2 separate regions of the Homo sapiens genome follow, and region 1 is linked to region 2. Evidence: promoter capture Hi-C in human tissues and cell types (Jung and others, 2019). All regions are on one chromosome and are shown on one strand. The core of a region is centred on a gene start or on the middle of the fragment in contact, and the rest is flanking DNA. Distances in the headings are between cores, read along the strand shown.

Region 1 (5,740 bases), core at 2,226-4,725, 34 kb after region 2:
CCAGATTTTGCTAGACATGCTTCACAAAATTTACCTGGATGAAAAGCATCAAAGACACCTGACTATGCTGGCATTACAGACTGACAAAAGACAGAAACTTATCAGTATCTATGGTGAAGAGGAAGAAGTAGCTAATAATTTCATCATCAGGTACTACCACAGAAATACTAACAGTTAAAATAAATGGGTCTGAAAATAAGTAAAAACCATCCTATATTTTCATTATATTAGCGTGACTATTACATACTATTAAAAAAAAACTTATTGTAGGGAAATATTTAGCAGAACTCACAGATACCAGCATAGAATAAATGCTTTTTCAGAATCATGTAGTTCACAGAAGCCTTACATTTCTTTATGAATGAATGAAGACCTTTCTTTATCTCTTCCTAGCAAACAACCTCTAAACAAAGCTTGAGATTTTTAGATCTCATTCCTATGACATTACTATGACATAAAAAATTCAGGCAGTTTACCTCATCTGTGAGGATTAGGGCTAAGAATTTAGGTAATTTTCACTGTTTTTATGCTAAAGAAGACTATACCATAAACATAACCATAACTTTAAATACCAGGTGTCTATGTATATCCTACTGACATGCAATTTAACAATTCAGACCTCTCCTGTGACTTCCAGACTCATAACGAAATGCCTACTCCACATCTATAGTTGAATTAATAGGTATCTCAAATTTAATATGTAAAATCAAACTCCTAATCTTCCCTCTCAAACTTTTTCTTCGTAAGTCTTTCCCCTTTCCAGTTGTTCAAGTCAAAAACCTTGGAGTCATTTTGCACTCTTCTTTTTCTTCAACCTTCACTTTCAAACCATCATCAAAACCAGTGATCTCCACATTCAAAATATAATTAATATTTAACCACTTCTCATTGGTGCTATAAACCTGGTTCAAGCCTCCATCACCTCTTGCTTGGATCATTACTACACCTCTGCTAAAAACCCTCCAATGGCTTCCCATCATATGCAGAATAAAAGCTAGTGCACTTTCAGGGGTCTCCAAAGCCTTACCACTGGCCTCCTACTACTTCTTGTATTTCATTCCTTACTATTCTTTCCCTCCCTCCCTTGCAAGCTCCGTGATCTCCTCATTGTTTCTCAACCTCACAGACTTTATATTTTCTGTTCTTTCCATCGGATACACTTTCCCTAGTTTTCTACATGGTTCACTTCCTGAACTGCTGGTCTTTTCTCAAATGTCACCTCAGTTAGGCTTTATTGTCCCTTATCATCCTTTATCATTTCAAAATGAACCTCTCTCTCAACAGTCTGCCCCCTATTTCCCTTTTCTGTTAGACTTTTGTCCTTACTTCATGTCACCATTTAACATACTGTATGTTTTTCTAGTTTTCTTTGTTTATTGCTTGTCTCTCTCTCTCATTAGACCTAATGCATGTCGATGAAGGCAGGGACTTTTTTTTTGTTAAAATTTTATTATTATTCCACAATAAATATTTATCTCTATCTCTGTAATGGAGGGTAGGTACAAATATGCCTATTTAAGGAAAACAAACATTGCTCAAGGATCTTAAGACATGGACATCCTTACAGAGAAACAAAAGGAAGGTAACATTTATTAAGCACCTACTATGTGCTAGGCAATCTGCAGGTTAGTGACATACTATTTAATTCTCACATCTATATGTTTTGTGAGTTCTCTGAATGTAACAAACAAGAAACTGAGGCTCACAGAGATTAAATAAATCTAAGAAGAAAGATCTGATTCTAGCACATCATGTTGGAGAAGCTATTTAGCAAACCTCAACTACTCCAATCAGCAAAACTCATATTCTTGTTCTTTCTTTAAAGGAATATTTATATGGTGGTATGTATATGTTTAATAATAACCTCAGAATAGGTACTGGTTTCTTCAAATCAACCTTTTAGAAAATGAAAAAGAAAGGTTTAAAAAAAGTTAGTATTCTTTAGCAAACTCTAGAAACAGTAAAAATTACTGAAATTCTTATCCCTAATCCTTACAGATGAGGTAAATGGCCCGATTTATTATTATTATTATTTATTCATTTTATTTTTGAGACGAAGTTTTGCTCTTGTTGCCCATGTCGGAGTGCAATGGTGCGATCTTGGCTCACCACAACCTCTGCCTCCTGGGTTCAAGCAATTCTCCTGCCTCAGCCTCCCGAGTAGCTGGAATTACAGGCATGCGCCACCACGCCGGCTAACTTTTTTGTATTTTTAGTAGAGATGGAGTTTCTCCATGTAGGCCAGGCTGGTCTCGAACTCCCGACCTCAGGTGATCCACCCGCCTCGGCCTCCCAAAGTGCTGGGATTACAGGTGTGAGTCACCGCACCCAGCCCTGAATTTTTCATGTCACAGTAATGTCACAGGAATGAGATCTAAAAATCTCAAGCTTTGTTTAGAGGTTGTTTGCTAGGAAGTCTATTAGCATTTCCTGATATAGGAAACAAAACTGTCAATATTCCCAAAGCTGTTCTTTCAATTTATGGCTATGGCTGTGGTGGTGTTGCATTTGTTAAGTCTCAGAGAGACTAGTCACACAGGCAACAACTTTTTAAAATACATCCTAGAGCCCACATCAGTAGTTACTCAATTAGCAGAGAGAAAGCTAGCAAAGACAGTCATAAAAATAACAGAACGTCAAACATTCAAATTTATTAAACACACACGCACACTCTCTCTGTCTCTCTCTCTCTCTCTCTCTCTCTCTCTCTCTACCTGAAGAATGAATGGCTTTGCTCCTTTTCTGCATCACTTCCATTAATGCACCCACAATTCCTGAAGTGGGTGCAGGTGTTGGTGGTGTAGACTCTTGGCCATCAGCCACCTTGGAAAAGAAAGTTAGCAAAACTCAGTAATAAATCTTTAGCCAAGAATCTTTGTCTCCAGAAAGTCCTACTTTCTTAGAATCACTTCTTATTGTAAAAGACAAAAAAGATATCAAACTGGCAAGCGCAGGACAAGATTAATCAAATTAACAAGAAATAAACTGCTGCCTTAAAGATATTATTCAAAAATATTTCCTTTCCATCTTAATGTATAAGCCAAAAATACATTTCCAAATCTATGTTTACATTCAGATAACAAACCCTCTCCTGAATAATACTTGCTGGGTTACTTCTGTTTATTCCAGCACACACAGACTTAGATGATCAACTTTAAAGCTTTTATCAAGGGATTTCATGTTATAAACAGAGGTTAATACTTAGACTCCAGAGTTGTTACGTGGGACGCACACTGAAGATATTGAAAAACAACTGTAGAAACTTATATTTGCCTACAAAAATTCAGCTTTACACCTTTATGTTACATTTATACCTTCAAAATGAACCTCTTTTCTCATAGTATATAATTTCTTTTTAAGGAGATGAGTTGATCAACTTTCAAAATGTACCTGCCTCACTAGGCAAGTAACAATCCCTAACTGAAGTACTTCCAGCTGTGCCAAAGTGCATTCATGAAAAAAAAAATTATAATTAAAGATGAAACAGCATAGCTGTATTAAATAATTACCTATGTTTTAATACATACATATATAATATATATTTTTGAAATTCTTAATCATTTCCCAAAGACAATTTTATTTAGACAAACTTTCCATTTTGATCTGTACAATTCTTCCTCTAATACTCCTTGTTCTTTCTGGAGTAAACACCTTTTTTAAAAAAATTCAAAGTGGTTCCCCCTAAGATATAGATTCATTCCTTAGTATTTTGGCTTTAAACATTATGTATTAACTATTTCCAGTATAGAAGTACCACAAATGAAAAAAGATAACAGAGAGTTTCAGAGCTTTGTATTTCTGCACAAGGCTCTCAAGGAGGTACAACAGCGGTAGGGACATTTAGACTACCTTTAAGCAATGTGATAATGTAAAGCAGAGAGCACAAAGCAGAAGTGAGCATACTCTCATCAAACACATTTTTTGAAGTGCTTACTTGAACAAAGTACTATTTGAGGTACTAAAACCATGGAATTCAAAAATATATGTGAGTATTCAATACCTCCTACTAGCTCTTTAAAGTAAGTCTATGGTTTTATGTTAATCATATTCATCACAGAATAAATTGATGATTTACTCAAAAAATTTAAAGAAACATAGCCATAGAAATTTCAACCACAAAATGGTCTTTTTCAAAAAATAACGAACTCGGATTACATGTATAACATGCCAATAGTTCACTGATTATGCACCCTATGATTGCAATAAATGCAATCAAAAGGAAAGTGATTATTTAGGATAAAAATGGCCCCCATTCTTACACATCAATTAACAGGTTTTGCTGCTTCTTTTTTTTTTTTTGGAAAGAAAGGGAGAGTTGGGATGGGAGAAAGTTATGGAGAAAGTAAATAGAAATTTAACTCTTAAACTTTTTAAAATAAATGAGGATACAACTTTATTCGTTAAAAATTTTAAATCACCTTATTATAGCTAAATGAGAGAAAGAAACAAAGTTGGTTTGTGAAAAGGAAATAGAAAAGGAAAACAAAAAGGTGGGTTAGGAGTGAGAGTTACGGGAATGAGAATGACACAGGAACTAGCAGAGATTCCAAGGTAAAAGCTGGGCTGTGGTCATTTTGACATTAATTCTCCCCACTAACCACTCTTTAAAGTTCTTCAACTGCTCTTGACAGGCCTTTAGTCTGATCTAAAGGGGGAAAGAGAACAGAGATGACTGTTCATAGGTTTAAGTGTCATCCTGAATACATGTAAAGAAAAGAGCTAGATATATTTTAAAGATCAGAGTCTTCTTAGATCTATGCTAATGTTTACATGTTTTCATTCAATTAGTTGTGCTTCCTATCTATTACCCTCCTTTTAGACAAAGTTTCTGAGATCTAGAAAGTTACTTTAATTCCTATACTGGGAAATAATTTTCAATTAAAACATCCTCTGTCGTCTCCATTTACTTCACAGAAAAACTCTATCATCCATGACCTCCCTGAAGTCCTGGAGAACATGTTATAAAAGGCTCCAAAAGAAGTATGTAAATGTAGACAGGTTAGGTTCTAGGATAGGAGTCAGCAAACTTGAGCCCATGGGCCAAATCCAGCCTGTTCTTGGATTTTTTTTTAAAACTATCTAAAAATTAAGCTTGATTTTTACATTTTTAAATGGCTGAAAGAAAATAAGAGTATTTTTGATATGTGAAAGTTATATAAAATTCAAATTTCAGTGTCCAAATATAGTTTTATAGAACACAAGCATGTCCATTCATTTATGTATTGTCTGTGGTGCTTCTGCGGTAAAACAGCAGAGCTGAGTGGTCACAAGAGGCCATACTGCCTATATAAGCCCAAGGTTTTACTACCTGATCCTTTATAGGAAAATGTTTGCTGAACTCTAGAAGATTAAATGACCTGTAAGATTAAATGATTACCTCATCCAAATCAGATAATCCTAAATTTATTTGCCATCACTGTCAGAAATTCTATTACAACTCTTTCAATTTTTTTGGTCTGATTCTCTACTAATCTAAATTTTAGAACATGAAAACTTTGGAACATGATTTAATTTTCATAAAGCTACTGGTTTAGATTTCCTAAGGTGATCACAATTGGTTTCAAGTAGGGCTATTTTTAATTCTCACAGCTTAATAAGGATTTTTCTTTAAAGTACCTTTTATTTGAAAGTAAAGTCTAGAACAATGAATTGCAAACATCCTGTAAAATTCCATTCACATGAAGTTCTAGAATAGGTAAAACTAATCTATGGTGATTAGATCAGTGATTGTTTATGGAAA
Region 2 (5,546 bases), core at 1,919-4,418:
ATATGCTACAGGCTGTAAAAAAAAAAACAAAAAAACAAAAAAACAAAAACAAAAAACAAAAAAAACACACAAATGAACTCATTATTTCTAATTCAATCATTATCTCTCTCATTAGCATCACTGAAAAGTGTCAGTTATTTTTGGAGTAGAATATCATAACAAGTTAAGATCAAAATAGCTAGCCAAAACATTCTCACAAGAGAGCAAAGTCAGATAGACTTATACACATTCTGATTTCAAAACTTATTATAAAGCTACAATAATTAAGACCATGTGATTTTGCATAAGGATAGATATATAGATTTATAGAACAGACTTGACTGTCTAGAAATAAACCCATGTATTTACGGTCAGTTAATTTTCCACAAAGGTTCCAAGGTAATTCAATAGAGGAAAGTATAGTTTTTTTCAACAAATGGTGCTAGGACAATTGAATATCTGTGTGCAAAAAGATAAATTTGGGCCAAGTGTTGTCACTCACGCCTGCAGTCCCAGCACTTTGGGAGGCCACGGTGGGGGCAGCATTTGAGTCCATGAGTTTGAAACCAACCACCTGGGCAACATGGCAAAACAGTGTCCCTACAAAAAATAAAAAAAAAAAAGATTAACTGGGCGTGGTTGCTTGCTGTCTCTAGTCCCAGCTACTCCGAAGGCCGAGGTGGGAGGATCACCCAAGCCCAAAAGATAAGAGGCTACAGTGAGCTATGATGGTGCCATTACACTCCAGCCTGGGCAACAGAGTCAGACTCCGCCTAAAAAAAATAAAAATAAAAAAGATGAATATATAACTTTACCTTACATATACACATAAATAAGTCAAAATGGGTAGGAAATCTAAATAAAACTAAAACTATACAACTTTCACAATAAAATATGAGTAAATCTCTGTGGCCTTGGGTTGGAAAAAAATTTTCTTTTTTTTTTAATGAGACAGAGTCTCGCTGTCACCCAGGCTGGAGGGCAGTGGTGCCATCTTGGCTCACTGCAGCCTCGGCTTCCTGGGTTCAAACCATTATCCCACCTCAGCCTCCTAAGTAGCTGGGTTTATAGGCATCTGTCACCATGCTCAGCTAATTTTTGTATGTTTACTAGAGACAGGGTTTTGCCATGTTGGCCAGGCTGGTCTCAAACTCCTGGGCTCAAGTGATCTGCCCACCTCAGCCTTCCAAAGTGTTGGAATTACAGGCGTGAGCCACCGTGCATGGCCAGAAAAAGATTTCTTAACTATAACACCAAGCAATACAACAAAAAAATTGATAAATTGGTCTTGGACTTCACCAAAATTTAAAAAGTTTGCTCTTCAAAATGAATCAAAAGACAAGCCCCAGAATAGAAAAAAAAAGTCATATACCTAATAAAATATTTGTCTCCAGCACATATAAAGATTCTTACAACTCAATAATAAGGAGACAATTAACCCAATTTTAAAATGGGCATAAGCAAGAGATTGAGGCTGCAGTGAGCTATGATCACTCCACTGCACTCCAGCCTGGGTGACCGAGCAAGACCCTGTCTCAAAAAGTTGTTTAAAAAAGGGGGAGGTAAGATTTGAATAAATATTTCACCAAAGAAGATATAAGGTGGCCAATAAACACATGAAATGATGAACATCTTACTAGGGAAATGAAAATTAAAACTATCATTTGACACCCTCTAAAATGACTATAATAGAAAGACAAGCAATAATAGGTGAGGATGTCGAGAAACCGGAACTCTCATTCATTGCTGATGGGAATGTAAATTGGTACAGCCGTTTCGGAAAACAGTTTTTTACAGTTTCTTAAAAAGTAAATTTACCATATAACCCAGTAATTCTGCTCCTACATATCTACTCAAAATAAATGAAAACCTGAGGTTACTCAAACACTTGCATGTAAATGTTCATAGAAACTTTATTCATAGATAAAAGGTAGAAACCCAAAGCTAGAAACAACCCAAATATTCACCAGCTGCTGAAGGTATAATCAGAATATCATGTACTATACATGTATTGATAAATGTATTTTTGTATGCATTAATATTTTTAATAGATTTTACATATCTATAAAATGGTGTTATATTTATGGAGTCCTATAAACTATGGATTTATTTTAACATATACACAACAATATGCTCATATATAATTTCTTTTTTTAATTTGTGCAAATGTATGGAGTACATAAGAAAATTTGTTGTATATATATAATATGTAGTGATTAAGTCATATATATAATTTCAAATTAGCATCTCTTCCATTTTCAGGCCAGATACAAATCTGGGCTCAGATTCTAGCTCTCTCACTTCTTAGCTCTGTGCTCCCATGCTAGTAACTTAACCTCTCTGAGTGTGTACTAGTTAAGTACAGGCACTAATGTACACCTTACAGGACTGTAGAATTAAAGGAGATAATGCTTAACACTGGAATGGCATAATGTCAGTCCTTAATAAATCATATCCAGTATTATTATTTGTATTTTTCGAGTTTCATTTGCAAGTCTAGATTTTTACTAGTAATCATGGTGAGTAGGAAGAAGCATTTCGTTCAGTGGAGAAAGACACCTCTCTGTACTTTCAGCTCTCCAACTTCTGACGTTTCACTTAATCTCTGAGAGCCTCAGTTGCCAACATCTATAAATGAGAATCATGTTATTCATCTCACAGTATTTATGATTAGAAAAACTTATTGAAGTGCTTTGTAAACTGCAAAGTAGGATAAAATTATGAAATACTATATTATTATGACCTTTTGTCCCCATCAATACCACCTACAGTATGTTTATAGAAGAACCAAAATAACTACCCATGGAGTATTGTGGAGACATTTCTCAACCCTAAGATTATAATGAAAGAATCTTTTCATGGCCATGGAGGTGGTGGCAAGTCATTTTCAAAATAAATTTTATTTCCCTGTTGTTTGAATACAAAGTGAGAAGAACTGTGTTACTCCTTATCTGAAACACTCTGCCTGTCCTCATGAGCTATCAGACTCAGCTAAATATGGCCCTGGCCAGTATGTTAATAATCCCCACTGGTTCTGAGACCTCCATCCACCACCGATGTGACATTCTTTGTGTTCAAATGTCTAGCTGACGTCTGATGCTTAAAACAGCCCATGCCTTCACCCCTCTCTGCATTGTCACAGCCCTGTATCACCACTCTTAAAAGGCTCCCACAGCCACTCCTAGCACCAGTTGTTGACCAGCCTGCCACTTGCCTCCCTGCCTGCTTCTGGCCGCCTTGAATGCCTGGTCCTTCAAGCTCCTTCTGGGTCTGACAAAGCAGGGACCATGTCTACCTTTGGCTACCGAAGAGGACTCAGTAAATACGAATCCATCGACGAGGATGAACTCCTCGCCTCCCTGTCAGCCGAGGAGCTGAAGGAGCTAGAGAGAGAGTTGGAAGACATTGAACCTGACCGCAACCTTCCCGTGGGGCTAAGGCAAAAGAGCCTGACAGAGAAAACCCCCACAGGGACATTCAGCAGAGAGGCACTGATGGCCTATTGGGAAAAGGAGTCCCAAAAACTCTTGGAGAAGGAGAGGCTGGGGGAATGTGGAAAGGTAGGCTCTCGGGACTTTTCCTTGGCTAACCCCACCTCCCCATCACCCCATCCCAAACCCAGACACTTGTTTTCCCTAACTTCTCAATCCTCATCACTTGAATTTTCCTATAACCCATTTATACTTGCTACTAAATCATTTTTCAGGCTGAAATAATCATGTAAATGCTATGGCCACCCAATGGATCATAATATGTAAAATTCTTAATTGGGGCTCTTTGATTGATTACAAATAGAAAGCTCAAGAGGAAAATAATTCACAATCAGTGTATGGGATTCAATATTTTGCCAAACATAAGTGTTGTTTGAGCTATATGTTGGTAATGTGGCATAATATTTGTTCCCAAGATACATGCATACGTATAAATGTATACTTTTTTTTCAGTTAAGTACATTTATTTTCTCCTATAAAGACAAAAGTGGGAACGCTGGTTGCTTTGACTGTGATAGTAGCTATGGTGAAATAGTTCTTTTCCAATACCAAGAAGTGTGGGGTGGTGGGAAGTACATGACACTGAGAGTCACAGGGCCTTGTTATGAGTCCCTGCTCTGTTCCCACATCTTTAGACCTTGAACAATCACTTTTACAGGGTTCTCTTTCCCTCTGGACATTGAGGGAGTTAGAGACAGTGTTTCTTTTGCGAATCAAGAACCCCTTTGAGATTTTGATAAGTTATGAACCTTCTTAAGAAAATAGCCCTGGGCTTGTGCAAAATACACCAACTTTTGCATAGAATTTCAAAATGATAACACATCCTGAAACCCATCTGAGGACTCAGGGGCAGCACAGCTGTATAGATGATCTCTTCGATTTCTGTCTCCTTTACGATGGTGATCCTGAGGTTAGGAAATGTGCTTATATCAGAGCTCAGGCCTATAAAGCTCTTGTGTACTGCCCAGTAAACAGTTATTTTGAATTTGCCAAATGAGTCAATACCAGAAGGAAGTCCAAAAGACTATTATTCTCTGGGAAAACAGTAATGACAATAAAGTGTCCATATAACAAAAAAAAAATTCTTCCGGAATTATGGAAGAACATAGGTCAGGAGAAACAGTTTAAAACCCTTGCACTCTGTTGGAATCATCTAAAATCAAAATGGCCTAAAGCCAATGGCAAGACTTCCACAGTACTAATCTAGGGCTGTTAGATGATCTTGATGATAGGGTTATCTTGGCCACAATTGCAGCAAGATATGTGTGAGTTTTGTCCACGTCAATCATTGCAGGAAGGGCCACTGGGATCTGGCCAGGGTCTGCCAAGGCCACAGTACTAATCAGCTAGAAGGGGTGTGTTAGAAGGAAGGACACATACAAGTCAGTACTTGGGCAGGTCAATTCCTCCACAACCATTGTTTTAAGAGGGATTTTTTTTTCTTTGATGTGATAATGAGCATCAAAATAACAATGACATTATCATCACAATTATTTAAAACTCTCTTTAATAAAATAAAACTGGCTGGGTATGCTGGCTCACGCCTATAATTCCCACACTTTTTTGGGAGGCTGAGGCAGGAGAATCACTTGAGCCTAGGAGTTCAAATCCAGCTCTGGCAATATAGTGAGATCTCATCTCTACAAAAAAAAAAAAAAAAAAAAAAAATTAGCTGGGTTTAGTGGAACATTAGCAGGTGGTAGTCCCAGCTGCTCAGGAGGCTGAGGTGGGAGGTTGGCTTCAGCATGGGAGGTTGAGGCTGCAGTGAGCTATGGTTGTGCCACTGCACTCAGCCTGAGCCACAAACCAAAACCTTGTCTCATTAAAAAAAAAAAAAAAAAAAAAGAATAAAACTGTCTCAGAATATCCAGGCTGTACAACCAATGTATCAATAATCCAACAAAGGCTTTTTAATGTCACAATGACATGATAGTGGTGGGAACCAAAGAGCAAAACCTATCGTCAGCCGGACGAACCCACCTGATCCTGCCAAAGGTTTTGCTGATCCCTGCCAATGGCTTATCAGCTCAATTAGAGAGGCTGCTGTGTTGATGGACTTCGGTTCCTTTCTAGGCT

Evidence for each region. Contacts are between HindIII fragments. The study calls those that stand out against the background at their distance.
Region 1: a fragment that was not itself captured here is called in contact with the fragment with the promoter of LMOD2 in region 2 in 1 of the 25 tissues and cell types used here (psoas muscle).

Annotation. Positions count from the first base shown.
Region 1 is chr7:123,686,328-123,692,067 of GRCh38, forward strand. WASL (WASP like actin nucleation promoting factor) reads right to left here. Exons shown (of 11, transcript NM_003941.4): 10 at 2,715-2,823. Among named protein-coding and RNA genes, the nearest start is that of LMOD2, 33 kb to the left of the region's middle. The HindIII fragment of the contact is 4,150 bases long and covers 1,401-5,550 here.
Region 2 is chr7:123,652,698-123,658,243 of GRCh38, forward strand. It overlaps LMOD2 (leiomodin 2), which reads left to right and starts at 3,169. Exons shown (of 3, transcript NM_207163.3): 1 at 3,169-3,539. The coding sequence starts at 3,267. The HindIII fragment of the contact is 15,658 bases long and covers 1-5,546 here.